2 separate regions of the Homo sapiens genome follow, and region 1 is linked to region 2. Evidence: promoter capture Hi-C in 16 types of primary human blood cells and fetal thymus (Javierre and others, 2016). All regions are on one chromosome and are shown on one strand. The core of a region is centred on a gene start or on the middle of the fragment in contact, and the rest is flanking DNA. Distances in the headings are between cores, read along the strand shown. Region 1 overlaps LRP5 (LDL receptor related protein 5). Region 2 holds the start of C11orf24 (chromosome 11 open reading frame 24).

Region 1 (5,451 bases), core at 1,899-4,398, 110 kb before region 2:
AGGCCACCGAGATGAAGGGAAACCCTGGTTCTGAGGCCTGAGACCCGGGGGCACTTTCAGGAACACCAAGAGCTAACACAGAGTTTCACGACCACTTGACACACCAGGCAACACAGGTGCGAGATGAGAAACACCTCCGGGGCATGCATTCTGGTCACGGCTAGACCCAGGGCCCTGGCTCCTTGGATGGGGCTGCACCGCGGCCTCCACACAGCTGGGCCATCAGAACACAGTGATGACCCCCAGTAACTCAGACCTCGTTTCTAAATAGGGTCCCACAGAGAACAGGCAAGGCACTGTCCACACACTTCCAACGAAGTTTCAGAACCACGCCACGAAGCACCCACCCCACAGCCACCTGGGTCTCTGCTGCCCCCCAGGGCCAAGCCTGCTGCTGGCTGAGCAGCTTGAGGTCACGCCCCTCCACGGCACAGGTGGACAGGGTTCAGAGTGGCACTTAGGCAGGTGGATGAGGGGAGAGCCTGGTCCTCTCAGGATGTCCCTGCAGACAGGCTGGACACAGCTGGGGACAGGAGGATGCTCAGGTGATTCTGGTCTCAAATAAAAGCCCCCTCTCTAGCTGAGGGCAGGATTTGCCAGCCCCTAAGACTTGCACGTGTTGAATCCCCAAGGAAAGTTCCCTCTGCTCTGGGCATCTGTGCCCTGCCTAACTCACCAGTGTGACCTGACAGCGTACAACCGGCACAAGAGAAGCTTAACTCAGGCTCCCTCCGTGGCCACAGCAACACTCTGAGAGCATCTGAGCAACAGGGCCCAGGGATCCGCTGTGGACGGGGTCCCGCCGCTCAGGCCCAGAGGCGTGCAAACCCAAGGACTCCTCACCACCCACTCCACAGGACGCACGGAGACCCCCCAACCTTTCAGCCATGGCCCTCAAGTGGGCTTCAGTTTGGGGGGTGGGGGGTTACAGGATTCTCTTCTGAACCCCCGTGGCCCACCCTCCACATGCTCCTGACCCCCAGGGCCCGAGGCTCCACACACAACGGTATCAGCATTTCTGACTGTGTCCTAGGACCCCCAGTTTGGATTTATCAGAGCTTCCTACAGAAATTGCAAGTGGAGACCCATGCAGACTTGGGGCCCCCAGGGTGCCCCATAATCCTGACAGATCCTTCCTGAGGTTGCTGGGATCAGGATGTGGCTCCCTCCCCAGGTTAGGGCATCGTCTACTCATTTGTTCCAGACCTTTCTGGTCTCAAGGATGCACAGAGCCAAGAAGGTCAGGGTCAGAGACCCCTCCCAGCATCCTGTGGCCATGCCCCTGCACAGGGGCCCAGGTCACAATCTGCAAAGGGGCCCGGGGCTGAACCAGCCCAGAGCCTCCCTGATGCCCTGGCCCCTAGACCTGGCCCTGCAGCCAACTGCCAGATCTCCTGAGTGCCCTGCCAGGCTGCAGCCTTCAAACAACAGATGGTCCCCTGTGCCCAGGCTCTGGCTCTCGCCAGGAGGAATGCAGAGACTGTTCCAGGATCCCGGCATCCAACGTTTCAAGGAAAGACAGGAGCCCCTCCTGACTCCTGCTCCAAGCCCCGGAGTGCATAATCTGATTCCTCCACTAGAGGGCGCCCACGTGATGGCAACAGCGACACGGGCCCAGGGCTGGGGAAACTGAGGCAGGCAGGCTGGGGAGAGGCAGAGGCAGCACTTAGAAGGTTCCCCAAGTGCCCAGCTACAATGGAAATCTCTGAGAGCCAAATTTAGATCTGGTCAGGGGCATCTGATTTGGTGTGTATTGGTAGGGGGAGGGGAATCTGAATTTCAACAAATTTTCTCCCTCTAGGCTCCACTCCCAAAATGTTCTGTTGACAATGGACCTGTCCTTCAAGGCCCAGGTCACACAGCACCGCCACCTCCTCCTCAGGGAAGCTGTTCCTCCCGCCACCTCCTCCTCAGGAAAGCTGTTCCTCCCCACACCCCAGTGGATGGCCGCCCCATACCAACAGTCGGCCTCATGGCGAGGGCGCCACCCTCACTGGGGTCCTGGCACAAGCCCCCTGCTCTCCACAGCCCCCAGCACAGAACCACATCCACAGCAGCACTACATCCAGGGATGAGCAGGGAGAATCCGAGACCGAAACCTCTGGGGCCTGCTGGGTGACCTCGGGCAGGTTCCTGCCCCTCTCTGGGCCTGTCTCCTCATCCAGTGAATAATCAGCCAGGCTTGGCGATGCCCGAGTCCCTGTCTAGCTATGACTTGGAGGGGACCAGAGACTCCACTTCACGAAAGGTCCCTGCTTAACAGCCACTGTGGGGAGATCACAGTCCTGGAAGGTCCCCAAGGGCTTGGCCGGGAAGAGCCCCATCCACACGATGTCTACAGAACTTTCCAATGAGACTGCCAGGCACAGCGCAAGACGAATCACGCTTGACCTCAGCAGTGTGTCCATCATGGCCCCACAGAGAACGCCAGTGCCAGACAGAAACCGGCACTTGATCCCAAAACACATTCCAAGCCTGTCTTGCCAGCCCGTTCCCTCTGTCCTCCTAAGAAATCACTAAAGTAGGCCGGGCGCGGTGGCTCATGCTTGTAATCCCAGCACTTTGGGAGGCCGAGGCAGGTGGATCACCTGAGGTCAGGAGTTCAAGACCAGCCTAGCCAACATGGTAAAACCCCCTCTCTACTAAAAATAGAAAAATATGCCAGGCCTGGTGGCGCACTCCTGTAATTCCAGCTACTTGGGAGGCTGAGGCAGGAGAATCACTTGAACCCAGGAGGCAGAGGTTGCAATGAGCTGAGATCGCGCCACTGCACTCCAGCCTGCGCGTTGGGGTGAGACTTTGTCTCGAAAAAAAAAAAAATCATTAAAGTAACACAATAGCACAATTTTCACACACCACCCCTTGAGCTATGAGGATGCCCCATTCTACTGACAAGGACCCCAACGCTCAGAGAGGGTAGGCTCCCGGCCCAAGGACACACAGCCGCAAGAGGAAAGCTCACTTCACTTTGCTTCCTCAAACACTTCAATCCCAGGAGCCAGCACATGCAGGAAGTGCGTTTTTCACTTGCCGCCTGGCTGCCTTCATCATCCCACCAGTATCTCTGTGGGAAGCTAGTTCAGGCCAGGCCCTGGACCCGCTGCTAGGGAAGGAGGGGTGGACGAAACAGACTTGGAATCTGCCCTCAGGACGCCCTTGGGGTCACAGGGCAGAGACCTTAGGTGAACGACACCATCCGTGAACACATAGCCACGAACTGTACTGTGAAGGCAGACTAGGGTTATGGGGTCTGTGTGGGGGGCCTGCTGAGATTGAGAGGTCTGCTCTCCAGCTCAAGAGCCTCTGGGATTTAGGTAGCTGTCACCACATGGCAGGTTGTGGCAGGTTCTGGCGGGGTGTCCCAAATGGGCCTAGAACCTTCAGGGGCTGAGCACACCCAGCCCTAGCCCTCTGGTAACTAGGTCAGCAGAGGGCCTCTAGTCCCACCATGAGGAACCTATTCTCGGCATCCCTTCCAATTACTTAGGAGTAAATCAAACCTCTGTGGCGAAGCAGTCCTTTCACTGCTGGGGTGAATCTGTAGGTGTTTACTGACTCGAAGGAGGTGTCTCTGACACCCCTCAGGCTGCAAGGCCTCTGAGGTTTTTGAGTTTTGCAGAGACTGAGACACCTGGGAGAGAGGCAGGATCCAACCCATTTGCCTGAAGGTCTGAGTGAGCTGTGACCAGCACAGAGGTGACCCCAGTGGTGGTGGGGACTCTGTCCAGCCAGGCCAGCAGGGAGCAGCTGCAGAGAGAGTACCAGCAGCCTGGGCTCCGCCACAGCCCTGCCAAGGCTGGTGCCCACAGCTGGCCTCCAGGAGGTTCTGTGTGTAGAGAGGTCCGGGCAGCAGCCATGGCCACGGGGAAGCAGGCCTGGGGTTGGGAGGGGCAGGTGCAGGGGACTGACTGTGCCGGGCTATAAAGAAGAGAGGCCAACTCCTTCCCTGGGACCAGCTACAGAGTCTTGGTAGGAATTTATTTAAACACCAAGGAAGTAAAATGTTTGGAAACTAACAGTTTGGCCAAATGGTTTTCTTTGGGGTTGTTTAAACAGCCCCACAACATTGCCTGAAAGTGAAACCTTCCCCTCGCCCGAGCCTCCTCCAGGCGGGCTGCTGACCTCTCCCCTTCCTCCCTGCACGCATGCAGGAGAGAAGGGCGACATCCCTTCCGCGAGGCCAAGCACAGGCCAGGGGCTTGGGGCAAGGGCCAGGCAGGGCACAGCTTCCTGGCAGGCAGCCTTATCCTCAAAACAAAAAAGCCATCCCAAGGGATGGCCGACGTCATGGACATGTCCAGCTCGACACCGTCCGTCCCTGCCCACCTCTGTCCCCGACCACATGGACACGCAGAACCTGCAGAGGGCTCCCGTGACACATCGCCACCAACCAGGTGGCTTCTAACATCAGAAATGCACCCCCCCACACACCCTAAGACATGCATCCCTGCAATCAAAAGTCAAGACGTCTGCAGGGACAGACTCCCTCCGAAGGCTCCAGGGCAGGATCCTTCCTGGCATCTTCCAGCTTCTGGTGTTGCAGGAAATACTTGGAGTTCCTTGGCTTGTGGCCGCCATCGCACTAAGCCCTGTTCTGACTCCATGCAGCCTTCACCCCTGAGTGTCAGTGTCTGCTCACCTGCTCTCATGAGGACACCAGCACCGTGGATATAGGCCCCCTACTCTAGGGTGACCTCATCCTCGCTTGATTACATCTGCCAAGACCCTGTTTCCAAATTAGATCACATACACAGGTTCCTGGGGTTAGACCTTTAGCATATCTCCTTGAGGGACACAATTCAACGTACCCAGCCGGGAGCAGAGGGTAAGAGGAGCGCTTCAGTGGAAGGACAGAGGCAAGTGTGCCAGGCAGAGCAGACGGCCTGGGCCACTGCACAGAGGCCAGAGAGAGGGTGGCCCAAACCTGTCGCCGGGGCTGATCTGAGCGTGGAGGCCTGGCACCCACCAGCATTGGCACTGCCCCGCCCACCACAGCTCTCTTCTGAGGCCCCACTGCATGCAGGACACGCCCCACTGCGTGCAGCTCCGAGCCCAGCCCTATCCTCCAGGAAGCCTCATGCAAACAGCCCGCCGTGCGTGCAGCAGATCCCGACCACAAAAGCAAACAGACTGCCACTCTCACACAAAAGCCGGGAAGGAAACGCGCTCAAATGTCAACAGTGGTTATCGTCGGACGGGTCCTATCCTTCCTTCTAGCTGTCGGACAGAGGTCGGCAAGCACTCTGGGAAGGGCCAGAGAGCAAATATTTTCGGTGCTGCGGCCTGCACGGTCTCCTTCCCGCCTCCTCAGCTCTGCCGCAGCTGTAGGAAGCCAGCCTGCCTCAGTCAACACAGCTGGGAGCAAACAAAACTTCATTTATGGACACTAAAATGCAAATTCCATGTCATTTTCCCATGTCCCAAAACATTATTCTCCTGATTTTCTTCTCA
Region 2 (5,496 bases), core at 2,076-4,575:
ACCTCCCGGGTTCAAGTGATTCTCCTGCCTCAGCCTCCCCAGTAGCTGGGACTATAGGCATGGGCCACCACACTTGGCTAATTTTTGTGATTTTAGTGGAGATAGGGTTCCACCATGTTGGCCAGGCTGGTCTTGAACTCCTGACCTCAGGTGATCCATCTGCCTCGGCCTCCCGAAGTGCTGGGATTATAGGCATGAGCCACTGTGTCTGGCCTAAATAAAGCATCTTTAATAGAAACACACACACAAAAACAAAGTTATGTATATTGATCTGTTGATAAAAATGTTGTGATCAGAGGTTCACAGGAACCTAACCCTGTATCTTCCCTAGGAGCTGTGGTTTCCAAGGAGCAGTATTTGCTAAGTCCGTGTACTGGGTGACTTTATTCAACATAACTACTGCAAATACCAGAATTGACTATGATGAAACGGAGGCACAGAGCCTAAGCCTCTTGTTTGTTGTCATTTAGCAAAAAAATGAAGGATCTGAAGCCAGGCAGTGCCATTCCAGAGCCCTAACTTTCAAATGTCATATCTACAAGGTCTTACATTCAAATAACATTGTAAATTCAACAACAAAGAGACCAAGCTCCAAGTTTATTCAGCTATTTCTGCACAGAAGGCACCTGAAATGATCTGTGCCTGGAAACAAAAGGTAGAGGATGTAAGTGTATCATTCTCTATTTTATCCACAGCCCTCAGAAGCAGCTGGTCTGCCTGGCTTTACTCTCCATAACACTCCACAGAACAGTTTTGCAGTTCCCAGAGCTGTGCCTTCAATGGACACTAGGTTTCAGGTGACCAAAGATGCTATCAGAGAATATGACTTTCTCATAGGAGAGAATGAGTTTCCCGGTATGTTGGACCATCTCAGCCAGATATTTCTGTGTCAGAAACCCATCAGTAACACTCTAGACTGGAGATCAGCAAATAGATTCTGTAAAGGGCCAGAGAGTAAATATTTTAGGACTTGTGAGCCATATAGTCTCTACAACTAGTCGACTGTGCCCTTTTATCATCAGATAATACCTAATGAAGAGGCATGACTCTGTTCCAATAGAAATTTAAGAAAGCAGATGGGCTGGGCGCGGTGGCTCACGCCTGTAATCCCAACACTTTGGGAGTCCAAGGCGGGCGGATCACTAGGTCAGGAGATCAAGACCATCCTGGCTAACATGGTGAAACCCCGTCTCTACTAAAAATACAAAAAATTAGCTGGGCGTGGTGGCGGGCGCCTGTAGTCCCAGCTACTCGGGAGGCTGAGGCAGAAGAACGGCGTGAACCCGTGAGGCGGGGCTTACAGTGAGCCGAGATGGCGCCACTGCACTCCAGCCTGGGCGACAGAGCAAGACTCCGTGTCTAAAAAAAAAAAAAAAAAGCAAGCAGATGGAGGTCTAGCTGCCCAGCTGCTCTAGAGGAGAGGCTGTGTCTTATGTTTGTAATTTCAGCCCCAGCAGTAAAAATTGTCCCTATGTTGCCAAAGAGGAAATGAAAACAGAGTCACAGTCATTGATTTTTTTTTTTTTTTTTTTTTTTTTTTTTAGAAGGAGTCTCGCTCTGTCGCCCAGGCTGGAGTGCAGTGGTGAGATCTCGGCTCACTGAAGCCTCCCCCTCCCAAGTTCAAGCAATTTTCCTGTCTCAGACTCCCGAGTAGCTGGGAATACAGGCACACGCCACCACGCCTGGCTAATTTTTATATTTTTAGTAGAGACGGGTTTCACCATATCGGTCAGGCTGGTCTCAAACTCCTGACCTCAGGTGATCCGCCCGCCTTGGCCTCCCAAAATGTTGGGATTACAGGCGTGAGCCACCGCGCCCAGCCCAGTCATTGATTTTTGAAAAGGGCAGGCAAAGAACTAAAATCTGCCTGCCGATTGTATATTTTCACTTCTGGAGTGAGCCTCAATACTGTACTTCATGTTAGATCCGAACTAGTTGGAAAAATTAAAGCAAATACATAGTGAAAGGATCTGATCTTCACATGATCCAACCGGCGTTGGGTCTCAGCAAACCCAACTTTGCAGGTTAAATTCCACACATGAACTGTGGTTGAACTGGGGATGGTGGTGGTGACATCAAATCGCATTTCAGGTGCTCCCAGAGCTCGGAGTGGATGGTAGATCCTGTCTTTGCCCAATCTCAGCTTTCTGTGTCTCTTAGCTTCCTAGCCGAAGACCCCAAGGCAGGTTATAAAACTGGAAATAAAGTCTTGGTTTGCTCCTGTGAAATCATCCTTCGCAGACAGGTTTTGGTTTGGACCGGGGGATGCCTGAGGGTCTTATACAGACTGGGATTCAGTCACAGAACTACTAACTTGCAAAGCCTATTTCTTTCTTTCTTTTTTTTTTTTGGAGACAGAGTCTCGCTCTGTCGCCCAGGCTGGAGTGCAGTGGCACGATCTCTGCTCACTTCAACCTCCACCTCCCAGGTTCAAGCAATTCTCCTGCCTCAGCCTCCCGAGTAGCTGGGACTACAGGCGCACGCCACCACGCCCGGCTAATTTTTTGTATTTTAGTAGACACAGGGTTTCACCATGTTGCCCAGGCTGGTCTCGAACTCCTGAGCTCAGATAATCCGCCCGTCTCGGCCTCCCAAAGTGCTAGGATTACAGGCAAGAGCCACCGCGCCTGGCCTGCAAAGCCTATTTCTAACCAAAGTCAAGTCCCACACACTTGCCTCTAAATTGCGTTTTGCTCCTTTGTTATCCCAGGTTTTACAATTACAGAGCACTTGATGAGCCTGTTTCCACGTCTGTAAAATGAGGCGAAGTTCTTCACTGTGCTATTGCAGAATTAAGCCACTGGCTCTATAGGCAAAGTGCTTAGCACGGGCGTGGCACGCTGCGGGTGCACAGAAACGCTCGCTGCCACCCCACCCTTAACTACCGGGCACCCCAGCGCCCCGCCAGGGGCTGAAGAAACGTGGGAGGAAGCGGAGGAACGCGAAGGGCGTGTGCCCGCGAAAGGTCTCACGAGGCGTTTCGAGGTCGCCTCTTCAGGCTCGGCTGCCGACAAGGTGCCTCTGAGCTCACCCAGCCCAACCCGCGCACCCCGGGACCCCAAGACGGCAGCGGGCACAGCTGGGCAGCAGAGACCCGGGAACACCCACTTCCGCCACAGACCTGCTCAAAATAGCTCCTTCTGGCAGCGCGCAAGAAGTGGCCCGAGCCGGCCCCGGGGAGGCGGGGCCTGAGAGCAGACAACCCCCCCACTTCCGGCTCGCCTCCGTTCGCCACAGGCCCCGCCGCAGCCGCTCTTCGCCCCGGCCAGCAGGCCCGCCCCGCCCTCCGTGACGTCATTTCCGGCGTTTGGGCGGGGCCCGGGCAGGGCGCGCTGCCCGGAGCTGCCTGGGTTGCGCTGCCGGCCACGTCCCCGCGCCGGGCCTCAGGCTCCTTCCTACTGTCCGAGGGCCACCAGGCCGCCGGGGGCCTGCTGCGCCCGGGTAAGGGGCTCGCACTGCCGTCCGGGTAGCTGCTGTCAGGGCTCCCTGACTGGCTTGGGACTGAGAGACAGAGGTTGGGGGGCAGGAGGAGGGTTGGATGGGGGCACGAGGGGCAGTGGGAGAGTGAGTGGGGCTGAGAGAGGCAGGAGGAACGGGACAGGAGGAGCGGCGGATGGGGCACGCACAGAGTGCAAGACGCTGAGCAATGCAGGTACTGAAGAAGTCAACTGGGGGCCGAGCATGGCTGGGGGCCCAAGAGACAGGAGGAGGGAGGAGGGCCGAAGGGGGCCCAGACTGGAGAAGAGGCCGGCTTGTCCCATTGTGGGAGCAGAATGGGGACACTCTGGAAGGGGGCCGAATTTGTCCTGGGGTCTTTCCCGGGCAAGCCCAGGACGGGACTGGACCCCAAGAAGTGTCGCTCTTACTTGAGTGACACAGACCTATCCCCCAGACCCTCTCTCTACCTGGGTGGAGGTTGTGCATTGCCCCAGATTCCCTCCCCTGCCCATCTGTCTCCCTGCCTGCTTCCCCCGTGCGAGTCACTTAGTAGCCCCCGTGTGGCTGCTTAGCATGTTGACTTAATCGTTAGGCTGATAGGAGGAATCGGCCTCCACACGCATGGTTTGCCACCAGAAATAATCATCGTGCTTAGAAATCTGACTGTAATAACTTGCAGCTATCCCTCGCCCCAGGAAAATCTCTAACATTTCGATAAAATCAGCTAGGAAAATCTTTAAAATACAGATGTTTCCATTTATACAGTGGATCTGCCTAATGGACAAAGGAATGTCAGAGCTACCCACGTTCTTAGCAAAAACTAGGCCCTAGTATTTAGCTGTGTTACCAAAACTTCCAGAAACCTGGAAGCAAGCAAGGTAGTTAATGTAATATAATAAATGTCCAATGTTCTAGGTTCCCGTCTGCCACAGAGTCACATCCTTTGGACTACAGGACAATGTCTATATACACAAAGCCATAAGTCTGTGTTCCTTGGGCTTCTGCTACCAAAGTTCAGCCAGGTGACGTGTCAGGATTAGGTACCTGCAGTTTGCCCTGTATTTGTGTTTGCAGTTCCTACTCCTTGGTATCTGTAGCTTGCCTAACTTGGTGTGGGGGCCTGGCCATGTTGCGGCTGAGTGAGTCTTAATAGCCTGATAGAATGTGGGGGTAACAGCTGTAGTCCTTTACCAAGCTTCAGGATTGGTCTTTGGAACCTCTCTATGCCAGAAAAAAAGAATTAAGTTATTTCTTTCCCTTTTTTTTTTTTTTTAAGAGATGGGGTCTCACTATGTTGCCCAGGCTGAACTCAAACTTCTGGGCTTGTAATCCTCCCACCTCAGCCTCCTGAGTGTCTGGGATTACAGGCATGCAGCACCACGCCTGGAGTCCAGTTTTGTGTAACTTGCATAAAGTGCGCCACATATAACAAGCCAAGGTTCGGAACACAAGAATTCAGACAAGATGCCTTGGGAGGCATCTCGAGGTCATGAACCAGAAAAGGATAGGGAGGTTGACACCCAGGGGCATAGTTGGGGGTGCCTTTGTCATGGAGTGTCACATGGCTCAAGGGAGTATCCTGTTGCACCTTCCTTGCAGATCCTATGGGGAGCTGACCCCTGAAGAAGGGAGCTCCCAGTGCCAGCCTAACCTTCCGTCTTTCCATCTGCCCTGGTCTCCAACTTAATACAAACTTAATTCTCTCTCGCTCATTCCCCTCCTGCCCCTGGGGTCTCTTTTTTCCCATCTATTATGGTCTGAGACCCTGATCTACCCAGTCTCCCTGTACCACATAATAATGAGAATAACTGGTGGGGTCCCGAGACCCACATCCTAATTTTGGCTTGAAGCCTTTGCAGGGGAAACTGTTATTTTAAATGTTGTTAATGGTTTGTCCATCATGAGTCAACTTACATAGATGACCACAGGTTCCCGCATGGGATCTTGACATTTAGAATATTCTGTTGGAAAGTGGAGGCAGGACCATAGCAGAGGGATGAAGTCATAGGACAATGAAGGCCTGTTCTCGACTACACAGTGGCCAATTCCTGTTTCTGT

The links. The method cuts DNA at HindIII sites, captures the fragments that hold promoters and counts their contacts. A CHiCAGO score of 5 or more calls a contact.
Region 1: a fragment that was not itself captured here is called in contact with the fragment with the promoter of C11orf24 in region 2 in 8 of 17 cell types (megakaryocytes, endothelial precursors, total B cells and 5 more); the score reaches 17.0 in megakaryocytes.

What each region holds. Positions count from the first base shown.
Region 1 is chr11:68,380,251-68,385,701 of GRCh38, reverse strand. The region is part of intron 5 of LRP5 (LDL receptor related protein 5); the gene reads right to left. Among named protein-coding and RNA genes, the nearest start is that of LRP5, 70 kb to the right of the region's middle. RefSeq lists enhancers at 4,765-4,814, 5,115-5,164, 5,195-5,284. The HindIII fragment of the contact is 4,863 bases long and covers 717-5,451 here.
Region 2 is chr11:68,269,802-68,275,297 of GRCh38, reverse strand. It overlaps C11orf24 (chromosome 11 open reading frame 24), which reads left to right and starts at 3,325. Exons shown (of 4, transcript NM_022338.4): 1 at 3,325-3,441. It overlaps LOC105369363 (a long non-coding RNA gene), which reads right to left and starts at 3,196. Exons shown (of 3, transcript XR_950248.3): 1 at 3,122-3,196. RefSeq lists silencers at 1,189-1,248, 3,128-3,527 and an enhancer at 2,362-3,216. The HindIII fragment of the contact is 7,211 bases long and covers 1-4,635 here.